2 separate regions of the Homo sapiens genome follow, and region 1 is linked to region 2. Evidence: promoter capture Hi-C in 16 types of primary human blood cells and fetal thymus (Javierre and others, 2016). All regions are on one chromosome and are shown on one strand. The core of a region is centred on a gene start or on the middle of the fragment in contact, and the rest is flanking DNA. Distances in the headings are between cores, read along the strand shown. Region 1 has its middle 20 kb from the start of CLDN4. Region 2 holds the start of TMEM270 (transmembrane protein 270).

What was found. The method cuts DNA at HindIII sites, captures the fragments that hold promoters and counts their contacts. A CHiCAGO score of 5 or more calls a contact.
Region 1: a contact is called between a fragment that was not itself captured here and the fragment with the promoter of TMEM270 in region 2, in 1 of 17 cell types (erythroblasts). The highest score is 5.0, in erythroblasts.

Annotation. Positions count from the first base shown.
Region 1 is chr7:73,809,560-73,813,289 of GRCh38, reverse strand. No RefSeq gene overlaps it. Among named protein-coding and RNA genes, the nearest start is that of CLDN4, 20 kb to the left of the region's middle. RefSeq lists a silencer at 1,294-1,403. The HindIII fragment of the contact is 4,153 bases long and covers 1-3,445 here.
Region 2 is chr7:73,859,449-73,862,897 of GRCh38, reverse strand. TMEM270 (transmembrane protein 270) reads right to left here and starts at 1,739. Exons shown (of 3, transcript NM_182504.4): 1 at 1,632-1,739. The coding sequence starts at 1,703. The HindIII fragment of the contact is 5,367 bases long and covers 1-1,905 here.

The sequences.
Region 1 (3,730 bases), core at 120-2,619, 49 kb after region 2:
CTATCAACAGTGGTCAATGTTGAGATGACAAAACATTGGAAATATCAGATCAAGACTTTAAAGCAATTATTATCAAAATGTTGCAAGAAAGGCCAACACTCTTGAAATCAATGGAAATATAGAAAGTCTTTGCAAAGAAGAGAAGATGTAAAGAAGAGCCAAACAATTTTTTGTTTTCTTTTGAGACAGGGTCTCCCTCTGTCACCCAGGCTGGAGTACAGTGGCATGATCATAGTTCACTACAGCCTCGACCTCCCAGGTTCAAGTGATCCTCTCACGTCAGCCTCCAGAGTAGCCAAGACTACAGACATGAGCCACCACACTGTCAATATTTTATTTTTTTGTAGAAATGAGGTCTCGCTATGTTGCCCAGGCTGGTCTCAAACTCCTGGTCTCAAGAGATCCTCCCGCCTCGGCCTCCCAAAGTGCTGGGACTACAGGCATGAGCCACTGCACCCAGCCCCAAACAGAAATTTTACATGTCTGTAATTCTAGCACTTTGGGAGGCAAAGGCAGGAAGATCTCTTGAGTCCAGCAGTTCAAGACCTGCCTGGGTGACAAAGCAAGACCCCATATCTACAAAAAAATTAAAAATTAGCCAGGCATGGTGGCTTGTGCCTGTGGTCCCAGCTACTCGGGAAGCTGAGATGGGAGGATTGTTTGAGCCCAGAAGGAGGCTGCAGTGAGCCATGACTGCACCACTGCATTCCAGCCTGGGTGACAGAACAAGACCCTGTATAAAAAATAAATAAATAAATGAAAATAAAAAAATTTAAATAAAGTTTAGAACTGAACAATATAATAACCGCAATGATAAAACAAAGCCAGGCTGGGCACGGTGGCTCAAGTCTGTAATCCCAGCACTTTGGAGGCCAAGGCAGGTGGATCACCTGACGTTAGGAGTTCAAGATCAGCCTAGCCAACATGGTGAAACCTCGTCTCTACTAAAAATACAAAAATTAGCCGGGCGTGGTGGTGGGTGCCTGTAATCCCAGCTACTCAGGAGGCTGAAGCAGGAGAATCGCTTGAACCAGGGAGGCAGAGGTTGCAGTGAGCTGAGGTCGCACCACTGCACTCCAGCCTGGACGACAGAGTGAGATTCCCTCTAAAATAATAATAATAATACAACAAAACCTTGAATGAGCTCAAAAGTAGAATAGAGATAATGAAGTCAGTGAACTTGACGTAGATGGGGAAAAAAGCAAAAAACCAAAAAGTCAGTCAAATGGTAGCTAATTCCTATTCTAAGCAATGCACCCAACCATAAATCCCTGTCCAGAAGGAGCAGGGACCTCCAGCAAGTAGGCAGCGTCCCTGGCCATGGTTCTGGCAAACGCTGTGTGTCAATGCTCTCCTCAAGGCTGGGCCAGCCCACGGCCGCGGTGACTCTCCCTAGAGTCGCCCTCGCCTGTTTGCTTGTGGGAACTGCAGCATCCAGGGTGTCCCACACCCGTTGATGGGAATTTTGAAAATCGCACCTGTGCTAGTGGCAGGTGGAGGGGTAGAGAGGGAGAATTGTAACCGGCTGCCCCAAACACCCCCAAATTGGCTGTTTTAATGGTGAGCCAGAGGTAGGATTTGGAAATTCTTCTTCTTTTTTTTAATGAGACGGAGTCTTGCTCTGTCATCCAGGCTGGAGTGCAGTGGCAAGCTCTCAGTTCACTGCAGCCTCTGCCTCCTGGGTGCAAGTGATTCTCCTGCCTCAGCCTCCCGAGTAGCTGGGATTACAGGCACACGCCACCACACCTGGCTAATTTTTGTATTTTTAGTAGAGATGGGGTTTCACCATGTTGGCCAGGCTGGTCTGGAACTTCTGATCTCAGGTGATCCCCTCGCCTCAGCCTCCTATAATCCCAGGCGGGAGCCACCGCACCTGTCTGTTTGCAAATTCTTTTGACAAGTTGCTCATCATGGTGAAAAGTAAAAGTTGCCCAGTGCTCTGTATATGGCTAAGGCTGTGGGTCTATCCTTCCCAGGGTCTGGCTGGGAAGGTGATGGCTGCCTGATTCCTGGACTGGGCACGGTGCCCCCTTGGGTGTTTGCGGACGGCACAGCAAGTGTGGCCAAGGCTCTGGGAGAGGCTGAAGAGGTGGCCACCCAGGGGCAGGACTGCCAGGTCCCTGGGAAGGTCAAAAGGCAAGAGGGTAACCCACCCTTGGGGGAGCAGCTATGGCCCCAGGAGTAGGGGAGGATCCCCAGTGGAGGCAGGTGTCACTGCAGCCCTGGGCTAATGGGCTCTGGAAGGTGGGGAGGGGGGTGGGGGCGAGAAAGAAGGGGAGGAGGAGGAGAGGCGGGAGCTGTTCTGAGCCCCTGGGGTGATGTGATTGGCATTGCGGCCCCTTCCTCCTCCCCTCCCCATCACCCTCTCAGCCCCAACCACCCCACCAGGGCCTGGGAGGATGGCAGAAACCCCAGCCACATGTTCATAATGGAATAGAGAGCCAGCCAGGCCAAGACAAGCTGGCAGACCCCAGACATGCCCTGCCCCCACCCTGAGCCCCTTCCCCTCTCTTAGCCGCCTCGCCAAGCCAGGCCCTCCCACCCCAGGGAGCGAGAGGGCAGGGAAGTGACAGGACAGAAGGGTAGGGGACTTTAAGAGGGAGGGGCAGTGGAGGGAGGGGGTGCGGGGGAACTGGGAGGGGAAGGGTCTCCAGGAGAAGAGGAGCTTCAGATAGGGGAGGGGGCTCTTGGAGAGGAATGGGGCTCAGGGAAGAAAGGGGAGCTTACAGAGGGGAGTCTGGGAGTGGAGGGGGCCTGGGGCATAGTCCTGCAGGGGAAGGGGCTCCTGGTGGGCAGAGGGGCTTAAGATATAAACCAGATGTGGCCAGGCGCGGTGGCTAATGCCTGTAATCCCAGAACTTTGGGAGGCCAAGGTGGGCGGATCACTTGAGGTCAGGAGTTCGAGACCAGCCTGGCCAAAATGGTGAAAACCCATCTCTGTTAAAAATACAAAAATTAGCCAGGGCATGGTGGTGCATGCCTGTAGTCCCAGCTACTCAGGAGGCTGAGGCAGGAGAATCACTTGAACCTGGGAGGCAGAGGTTGAACTAAGCCAAGATTATGCCACTGCACCCCAACCTGGGCGACAGAGCTCGACACTGTGTCAAAAAAAAAATATATATATATATATATATATGTATGTGTGTGTGTATATATATATATATATATGTGTGTATGTGTGTATATATATATATGTATGTGTATGTGTGTGTGTATATATATATATATGTATGTGTATATATATATATGTATAAACCAGATGAGACCAGGAACAGAACAGCCCCCAAGGGTGGGCTCTGGTTTCTGGCCTTAGCTGGAGCTGGGTCCCTGCTGGGCTGGTTTCCCTCTGGGCTGGGCCCCATCTGGGCAGTGCCCTTGGCACGCTCCCAGGCAGCCCCCAGGCTTGGTTTCAGCAGGTCCGGCTGAAAACGGAAGAAACCAAGCTTGGGCAGGGCCTTTTTATGGCTCCCAGTGAAACCGGGCCCTGGGGACAGGGAAGAAGCTTCTCCAGGGCAATGGCGGAATGGTGGGGGTGACTCACTCCTCCCGTCCTGGCTCTGTGACATCTCAGAGCCTGGGAATTACCCAAAAGCAGCCAACCTGGACGGGCCGAGAGAAAACAGTTCCACCCCGCCCTGGCCACTCTCACCTCACCTTCCCACCGTCACTCACACGGAGGGACACGCCACGCCCGGAACTGAGGATACCAGGAATGAGAAACACACACCCT
Region 2 (3,449 bases), core at 490-2,989:
TTTTTTTTTTTTTTTTTTTTTTTTTCTGAGACAGGGTTTTGCTCTTGTTGCCCAGGGTTGCCCAGGCTGGAGTGCAATGGTGGGATCTCGGCTCACCGCAACCTCCGCCTCCCAGGTTCAAGCGATTCTCCTGCCTCAGCCTCTTGAGTAGCTGGGATTACAGGCATGCACCACCACGCGTGGCTAATTTTGTATTTTTAGTAGAGACAAGGTTTCTTCATGTTAGTCAGGCTGGTCTGGAACTCCTGACCTCAGGTGATCTGCCCGCCTCGGCCTCCCAAAGTGCTGGGATTACAGGTGTGAGCCACAGCTCCCGGTCCCAAGATGCAAATCTAATGGTGTCTGTCTTTCTCAACTGCCCCCTGTTATATGATCTTGGCTGACTGCAGCCTTGGCCTCCCAGGCTCAATCTATACTCCCACCTCGGCCTCCTAAGTGTGACTGAGTTGTGACCCCGACCACAAGCATGTGTATGTTTAAAAGAGATGAATGGGCCAGGTGCGGTGGCTCACACCTGTAATCCCAGAACTTTGGGAGGCCGAGGTGGGTGGATTACGAGGTCAGGAGTTTGAGACCAGCCTGGCCAATGCGGTGAAACCCTGTCTCTACTAAAGATACAAAAAATTAGCTGGGCGTGGTGGCGCACGCCTGTAATCCCAGCTACTTGGAAGGCTGAGGCAGGAGAATTGCTTGAACCTGGAGGTGGAAGTTGCAGTGAGCCGAGATCGCACCATTACACTGCAGCCTGCGCGACAGGGCAAGACTGCATCTGAAAAAAAAAAAAAGAGAGAGAGATGAATGAGCCAGGCGCAGTGGCTTATGTCTGTAATCCCAGCACTTTGGGGAGCTGAGGCGGGCAGATCACAAGGTCAGGAGATCGAGACCATCCTGGCTAACAGGGTCTCTACTAAAAATACAAAAAAAAAAAAAAATTAGCCAGGGATGATGGCACGTGCCTGTAGTCCCAGCTACTTGGGAGGCTGAGGCAGAAGAACTGCTTGAACCCAGGAGGCAGAGGTTGCAGTGAGCCGAGATCGCACCACTGCACTCCAGCCTGGGCAACAGAGCGAGACTCTGTCTCAAAAAAAAGAAAAAATGAATGGGAAAAACAATGATTCACCCATAGGAGTGACCCTCAATAGAGAAAATGCTGCCAGGTGCGGTGGCTCACACCTATAATCCCAGCACCTCAGGAAGCTGAGGTAGGAGGATCATGTGAGGCCAAGAGTTGGAGACCCGCCTGGGCAACGTAGTGAGACACCATCTCTACAAAATACAAAAATTAGTCAGGCGTGGTGGTGCACACCTATAGTCCCGGCTACTTGGAGGCTGAGGGGGGAGGATTGCTTGAGACCGGGAGTTGGAGGCTGCAACGAGCTGAGCCGGCACCACTGCGCTCCAGGCTGGGCGACAGAGCGAGACCCTGTCTCTAAATAAAGAAAAGAAAAGAAAATGTCAGCACTGTAGTTTGGAGTGGGGCTTCTGGGAGATGTCAGATTATTCTGGAAGGCAGGCAGCCACCTCGTTCCACTGGATGGGACAGGCAGGGCTTGGGCCCGGCAGCTCTGAGGTGGCTCTGTGAAGGGCCTGGTGTGTGGTCCCCACCCCACTTACCCCCAGCCCCCACTCACCAGCACTGAGAGCCTCGTAACCTGCAACAGGATCCCCAAAAGGCTGGATCTGACTGGAGGAAGGGCCTCCATGTCTGGCCTCCCCCACCTACTCCAGCTGGGAGAAGCAGGGTGACCTCACAGATGCCACAGGGTGGGGACCAAGTTACCATGGGGACCCGGTTGCCGCCAGTGACCCACTGCCTTTACCTGGCTCCTGCCGCTCCACTGCTTCCTCTGAAACCTCAGTCCACGTCTGAGCCCAACACGGCCAAGGAGGTCTTAGAGCAAAGCTTCCTTCGGGTCGGATTTCCCCAGATCTTGGAACAGGAATCAAGTGCCGCCTAGGAACGGGGTTCATGCCTGGATTCCCAATGCTTTGGGAGGCCAAGGTAGGAGGATCGCTTGAGGCCAGGAGTTTGAGACCAGCATGGGCAACATAGCAAGACCCTGTCTTACAAAAAAACAAAAAAAGAAAAAAATTAACCAGCCTTGGTCATGCACACCTGTAGTCCCAACTACTCAGGAGTCTAAAGTGGGAGAATCGCTTGAGCCCAGGAGATAGAAGTTGCAGTGAGCCAGGATCACTCAAGCCTGGGTGACAGAGCAAGACCCTATCTCTAAACAAAGAAAAAAAATTGAAGGGTGATGAGTTTATTTGGGGAGTGGGCCCTGCAAGCATCCATAGGAAGTCAGAAAGTGAGGCAAGGGGCCAGGCACAGTGGCTCACACCTGTAATCCCAGCACTTTGGAAGGCCGAGGCAGGCAGATCACGAGGTCAGGAGTTTGAGACCTGTTGGGAACAGGCCCCCAAAATCTGGCCATAAACTGGCCCCAAAACTGGCCATAAACAAAATCTCTGCAGCACTGTGACATGTTCGTGATGGCCATGACACCCACGGTGGAAGGTTGTGGGTTTACCGGAATGAGGGCAAGGAACACCTGGCCCACCCAGGGCGGAAAACTGCTTAAAGGCGTTCTTAAACCACAAACAAGAGCATGAGTGATCTGTGCCTTAAGGACATGCTCCTGCTGCAGATAACTAGCCAAACACATCCCTTTATTTGGGCCCAATCCCTTTGTTTCCCATAAGGGATACTTCTATGGGAATCTAATCTAATCTATAGTTAATCTAATATCTATAGAAACAATGCTAATGACTGGCTTGCTGTTAATAAATACGTGGGTAAATCTCCGTTTGAGGCTCTCAGCTCTGAAGGCTGTGAGACCCCCTGATTTCCCACTTCACACCTCTTTATTTCTCTGTGTGTGTGTGTGTGTGTGTGTGTGTGTGTGTGTGTGTTTAATTCCTCTAGTGCTGCTGGGTTAGGGTCTCCCCAGCCAAGCTGGTCTCAGCAGAGACCAGCCTGACCAACATGGTGAAACCCCGTCTCTACTAAAAATACAAAAAAAAAAAAAAATTGGCCTGGCATGGTGGCGTGCACCTATAATCTCAGCTGCTCAGGAGGCTGAGGCAGGAGAATTGCTTGAACCCAGAAGGCAGAGGTTGCAGTGAGCTGAGATCATGCCACTGTACTCCAGCCTGGGCAAGAGAGTGAGACTCTGTGATAAAAAGAGGGAAGGGGAGGGGAGGGGAGGGGAGGGGGAGAGAGAGAGAGAGAGAAAGAAAGAAAGAAGAAAGAAAGAAAAAGAAAGAAAGAGAAAGAAAAAGAAGGAAAGAAAGAAAGAGAAAGAAAAGAAAGAAAAAGAGAGAAAGAAAAAGAAAGAAAGAAAGAAAAAGGAAGGAAGGAAAGAAAAGAAAGAGAAAGAAAAGAAAGAGAGGCAAGGACAGATGAGTTCATGAGCAGGGTTTGAGTTCAGACAACCGGGGCTGATCCC